2 separate regions of the Homo sapiens genome follow, and region 2 is linked to region 1. Evidence: promoter capture Hi-C in human tissues and cell types (Jung and others, 2019). All regions are on one chromosome and are shown on one strand. The core of a region is centred on a gene start or on the middle of the fragment in contact, and the rest is flanking DNA. Distances in the headings are between cores, read along the strand shown. Region 1 holds the start of SMU1 (SMU1 DNA replication regulator and spliceosomal factor). Region 2 has its middle 7.6 kb from the start of ACO1.

What was found. Contacts are between HindIII fragments. The study calls those that stand out against the background at their distance.
Region 2: a fragment that was not itself captured here is called in contact with the fragment with the promoter of SMU1 in region 1 in 1 of the 25 tissues and cell types used here (dorsolateral prefrontal cortex).

The regions. Positions count from the first base shown.
Region 1 is chr9:33,075,321-33,078,263 of GRCh38, forward strand. It overlaps SMU1 (SMU1 DNA replication regulator and spliceosomal factor), which reads right to left and starts at 1,354. Exons shown (of 12, transcript NM_018225.3): 1 at 1,263-1,354. The coding sequence starts at 1,288. RefSeq lists enhancers at 1,216-1,365, 1,536-1,735. The HindIII fragment of the contact is 9,509 bases long and covers 1-2,943 here.
Region 2 is chr9:32,375,441-32,378,563 of GRCh38, forward strand. No RefSeq gene overlaps it. Among named protein-coding and RNA genes, the nearest start is that of ACO1, 7.6 kb to the right of the region's middle. The HindIII fragment of the contact is 4,774 bases long and covers 1-3,123 here.

The DNA.
Region 1 (2,943 bases), core at 104-2,603:
GAGCGGAGATCGCGCCACTGCATTCCAGCCTGGGTGACAGAGTGAGACTCCGTCTCAAAAAAAAAAAAGGGAACTGATTGCTGCTACCTGCAGTAGTCTTTTTCTCTCATGGCCCCTTTATGAGGTATGCAGGTATCCAGACTTAGACCCCTGTTATTCTGCTATGATACTATCTTCCTTAGCACATGTCCGTTGACTTCCATTTTACACTCCCAAAATAAGTCATCTCTCTCCTCAAACAGCTCACATTTGACATAGCCAAAATCAAATTCCCTACCTTCAAACAGAAATGAATACATAAAGAGCTAGAAGCTTTGAAGATAGTCTGGGATTTGAATCAAAGTTATGTGACCTTGGACAAGTAGGTTAACATCATTTCAGTATTTGCTGAATGCATAAACCTCCCTTCCTCCTATGAAAAGTCTCCAAAAAAGGTCCTCTCCCTCCCTTACACTCAGACACAATTTTTATGTCTGTTAATTTAATTATTATTAAGTGTTGGCAAGGACAGGTGGAGGATGGAGTTCTGGAAAAGCACACTAAGGTCTTCTTTAGTCACTAATTCTCATCCCCTATTCCTTGAAAATTTTTCTTTCTAGCCCAGTCTCCAGTCTGTCTCTCCCCAGACAACCCAAAATTCCGTGCCAGATCGGGCCTGATAGTTGTTCATTCATTCCAAAAGCTAGTTGTTCATTCATTCCAAAAGCAATTAACTCTTCCTCTAAGGTATGCTAGACACTGAGACCACAAGGAAAAGGAGCTCCTAGGCACCGACAAAGGCTAGTTTGGGGTGAGGTTATCAAACAGTGACAATACTGAGTGATAAACGCTAGGCAGAGAAAAGCAAAGGGGCCGTATAAGCAGAGACAACGAATCACATTGCATAAGCTGGACAGGGAGAGAAGCAAGGCTTAAAGAGACCTATCCCCTTGCGCAGATAATTAGACTGGAGTCCAGAGTGGATCCTTAATTTGGTCAATCACAGCGCGCCAGCAGTCGGCCAAGGACAGAACTTAGGTCTGCAAGGTGTGTTTTCCCCACCCGTGCCACCTCCCTCGAGGTTTTGGGCTTCACGTCTGAGAGCTGCTACTTTCCTGTGGGCCCACCTCCGAGGTAGCGAGATCCAAGATGCTTCTTTGGGGGCAAGGAAATGGCCCTCCACTCCCTGGCCTCTCGGATGCCTTCTCCCGAGTACCCTCCGCCCCACACCCTTAACCTCCAGGCCCCCGGCAAGGCGCGAACATCCCCACCGCAGGACTCACTCCGAAGATTCGATTTCGATCGACATAGCCGTATCTCTCCGGGAGCAGGCCCCAGCTCTCCCTCAAGGCCAGTCGCGCAACACACCAACGACACCTCCGGCGGACACCTAACGTCACTTCCGCTTGGGTCGGCGTCTGGCTCCCGCTCTGGAGATAGAGTGAACGAAGAGTAGGGGCGAGGTTCGCGTAGGGGCGGAGCCCTCAGGGGCTGTCAGAGGGCGGAGTTTATGCCCCTGCCCCAGAGAAATACGCATCAGGAGGAAGACTGTTTAAAAGCAGGCCGGAGCCGGGTGCGGTGGCTCACGCTTGTAATCCCAACACTTTGGAAGGCCGAGGCGGGCGATCACCTGAGGTCGTGAGTTCGAGACCAGCCTGACCAACATGGAGAAACCCCCGTCTCTACTAAAAATACAAAATTAGCCGGGCGTAGTGGCGCATGCCTGTAATCCCTACTCGGGAGCCTGAGGCAGGAGAATCGCTTGAACCCAGGAGGCGGAGGTTGCGGTGAGCCGAGATCGCGCCATTGCACCCCAGCATGGAAAACAAGAGCGCAACTCCGTCTCAAAAAAAAAAAAAAAAAAAAAAGAAAGATAGAAAAGAAAAAGAAAAAAAGCACCGGGCGCCATACAGCTCACAAATGTACTGAAAAAGAAAAGCGCTGGGGCGGAGCGCGGTGGCTCGCGCCTGTACTCCCAGCGCGCGAGTTCGAGACCAGCCTGGGCAACATGGTGAAGCCCCGTCTCTACTAAAAATACAAAAAATTAGCCGGGCGTGGTGGCGGGGGCGCCTGTAATCTCAGCTACTCGGGAGTCTGTGGCAGGAGAATCGTTTCACCTCTGGAGGTGGATGCGGTGAGCCGAGATCACACCATTGCACTCCAGCCTGGGCAAGGAGAGCAAAATTCCGTCTCAAAAGAAGAAAAGAAAAGTAGTGGTGATAAGATTGTAGTAAGAAAAGCAAAGAAAAGAAAGAAGAAAAGAAAGAAAAGAAAAGAAAGAAAAGAAAGAGCACTGGTTTGGAAAGATTGCTTTTTTTTTGAGACGGAATCTCGCACTGTCGCCCGGGCTGAAGAGCACAATGGCGCGATCTCGGCTCACTGCAAACTCTGCCTCCCGGGTTCAGGAGATTCTCTTGCCTCAGCCTCCGGAGTAGCTGGGATTACAGGTTTCTTGCCATCACGCCAGGCTAATTTTTTGTATTTTTAGTAGAGATGGGATTTCACTATGTTGGTCAGGCTGTTCTCGAACTCCTGACCTCGTGATCCGCCCGCCTCGGTCTCCCAAAGTGCTGGGATTACAGGCGTGAGTCACTGCGCCCAGCCAATGTTGCTTTCGTTTGATGTAATTAGTTGATTAGATTTAAGATGAGGCTGAATATGCAATACCTGATGGGATATTAATACATTCAAAACCAACATAACACTAGCCAAAATTTATAGGAAGAGTTAATTGAGGATTTTGGTTGGTTGGTTGGTTTTGCGTTTTTTTGAATCAAGGACTCGCTTTGTTGCCCATGCTGGAGTGCAGTGTCTCGATCGTGGCACACTGCAGCCTCGACCCCTCCAGCTCAAGCAATCCTCCCACCTCAGCCACCCAAAGTGCTGGGATTACTGGCATGAGCCACCACGCCCTGTCACGGGACTTTAGGTCAAACACATTATTACATTTGTAGTGACAAATGA
Region 2 (3,123 bases), core at 517-3,016, 700 kb before region 1:
TTCCTCCCACATGGAAAAAATGTTGCCCAAACCCCATCAGTTGAATTTGGAGCACATTTTCCCCCATGGCAGAGGTTCATTCTTGACATTTAGGAGTGGTTAATTCTTTGTCTGGGGGTTCCCAAGCACTGTAGGAAACTTAGCAGTATCCCTGCTTTACCAACTAGATGCCAGTAGAACACCCCCCACATCGTCCCCCGGCTCAGTTGTGACTATCAAAAATGTCTCCAGGCCCACCACAGTGGCTCACGCCTGTAATCCCAACACTTTGGGAGGCCAAGGCAGGCAGATTACCTGAGGTCAGGAGTTCGAGAACAGCCTGGCCGACATGGAGAAACCCCATCTCTACTAAAAAAATAATAATAATTATATAACAAAAATTAGCTGGGCATGGTGGCTGGTGCCTATAATCCCAGCTACTTGGGAGGCTGAGGCAGGAGAATCACTTGAACCCAGGAGGTGGAGGTTGCAGTGTGCCAAGATCGTGCCATTGCACTCCAGCCTGGGCGACAAGAATGAAACTCTGTCTCAAAAAAAAAAAAAAAAAAAGTCTCCAGACATTGTCACATGTCCCCTGGGTGGGAGGAGAGGACAAAATGACCCTGGTTGAAAAACACTGCCCTATAGAAATATGGACCAAGAAGTCTAACAGGCATAACAGGACTGTAACAATAGCTGCTGGAAGGGGGATGCAGATGAGGGGAGAAGATGGCTTTTCTTATCCTTTGTCTCTCCCAACCAGGCTCAGGGTAAATTCCCTTGCACCCTACAATCCTCAGTACCTTTAGATATCCTTGTGCCCAGCACCCTCTCCATTCATGAGACTGGGAAGGATTATGACTTGGGCACCTATATTCAACAGAGCTAAAAATATTTGAGTTCCTCCCCTCCTTTCAGTTCCCCCGCATACTCAGCATTTTCCTTAAAGCAGTTGAGGCTGGGGTACAGGGGAAAGGAAGGGTCAGGAAGTGCAGAGGGAAAGAGCAGTTTCAGGCCAGTAAGCCAGTTTGCATCAGCTTTCCATTTCAAGCAGCTACCAGCAGGTTGGGCTCATTCAAGTGAACATCTGGCTTTGGTCCACCTGAAGCTGTATCTACTTACAGATGACATCATTATTTAAGCTTTGGGGGGACTCCTTGACCAATCAGATACAGCCACTTTTGGCTTCCCCACTTTTGCGGCCTAATTGTCATATAAAGTCCCTTCTTCCTGTTCCTGAGGAGAGTGAGCACAATCAAAGTACCATTTGGGAAGATTGTTTCAACCTTGCCTCTTGCTTAGCCTGTAAACATTCATTAACAGGCAGGAGAGTGAGAGAAATGTACTTTCCCCCTTGCTCCCCACTTTGGTGAGGGCATTTGCTACTGGGTCCTACTAACACAGCCCATGGGGTCTTCCAGAAAGGCACACCTCAGCCAGCACCCTATCTTGTCACCCAAACTGTCAGGGTCTGGGATTTTACCCTATATACAAGCTAGTAACTTAGCCTGTTATTGCTTCATGGATGTTGGCAGAAGACATGAGGCTCTTGGGTCAGAGATAAAGTACTTCACTACATGCGTAACAAGTAGCATGAAAATAAGATTGCATTAGTTCCCCTTGCCACTAAATCCCACAGACGAAATAGGCAGGGGCCCAGATGGAATGCTTAGCATAGTGAATCTGCTTTGTAGATGAGGAAAAGTGAGATTGGAGAATCCACTGCTTTTATAGTAACAAAAAGACATGTCAACAAGAAATACCCAGAATGAATGACAGAGACTAAAGAATGGAAAACATAGGAGACATAAAGGTTATAGTAAGACAGTCTAACATATGTGAAATTATAATTCCAAAAGGAAAAGAGACAGAGAATAGGACAGAAGCAACATTTAAAAGACAATAATTAATTTTTTTGCAACAATGCTGAAATACATTAAGCTATAGATTCAGAAAGTCCTATGAATCTCAGAAAAGAATAAAAGTATAGAAAACTCAAACTGGTGAAAACAAAAGACAATAGAAGATTGTAAAAGTAGCCAGAGAAAAGAAACATTACTTTGAGAACAGGAAGATTTAGACTGACAATGAACTTTCCAACAAAAGCTAGCAAAGCCAGAAGACATGGCTTGATTTTTTTGTTGTTGTTTTTTTCAGGTAGAGTCTCATTCTGTCACTCAGGCGGAGTGCAAGTGGCAAGCAAGAACAGGGATCACTGCAGCCTCGATCTTCTAGGTTCAAGAGATTCTCTCACCTCAGCCTCCTGAGTAGCTGAGACTGTGCACATCCCACCACGCCTGGCTAATTTTTTAAAAAAAATTTTTAGAGATAGAGTCTCACCATGTTGCCCAGGCTTGCCTGGAACTCCTGGGCTCAAGTGATCTTCCCACCTCAGCTTCCCAAAGTGCTGGGATTATACACATGAGCCACCGTGACTGGCCTGGACTGATACTTTTAAATGCTGGAAAAAAATAACTGCCAATCCAATATTTAATATCCAGAAAAAATGTTATTCAACAAAGACAGTAGGCTGGGCACGGTGGCTCATGCCTATAATCCCAGCACTCTAGGAGGCTGAGGCCGGAGGATCGCTTGAGCTCAGGAGTTCCAGACCAGCCTGGACAATATAGTAAGACCCTGTCTCTATAAAAAAAATTAAAAATTATTCAGGCATGGTAGTGCATGCCTGTAGTCCCAGCTATTCAGGAGGCTGAGGTGGAAGGATTGCCTGACCCTGGGAAGTCAAGGTGGCAATGGACTGTGTTCGTGCCACTGCCTTACAGCCTGGGTGACAGAGTGAGGGCCCTAGCACTTTGGGAGGCCGAGGCAGGTGGATCACCTGAGGTCAGGAGTTCGAGACAGCCTGGCCAACACGGTGAAACCCCGTCTCCACTAAAAATACAAAAATTAGTTGGGCATGGTGGTGGGCGCCGATGGTCCCAGCTACTCGGGAGGCTGAGGCACGAGAATCACTTGAACCCAGAGGCAGAGGTTGCAGTTAGCCCAGATTGCACTCTTTTGCCTGGGCAACAGAGCGAGACTCGTCTCAAAAATAAATAAATAAAAAATAAAGACAGTAAAATAAAGACATTTCACAACAAATGAAGCCTGAGAATATTTATCACCAGTAGAAAATGTTTTCTT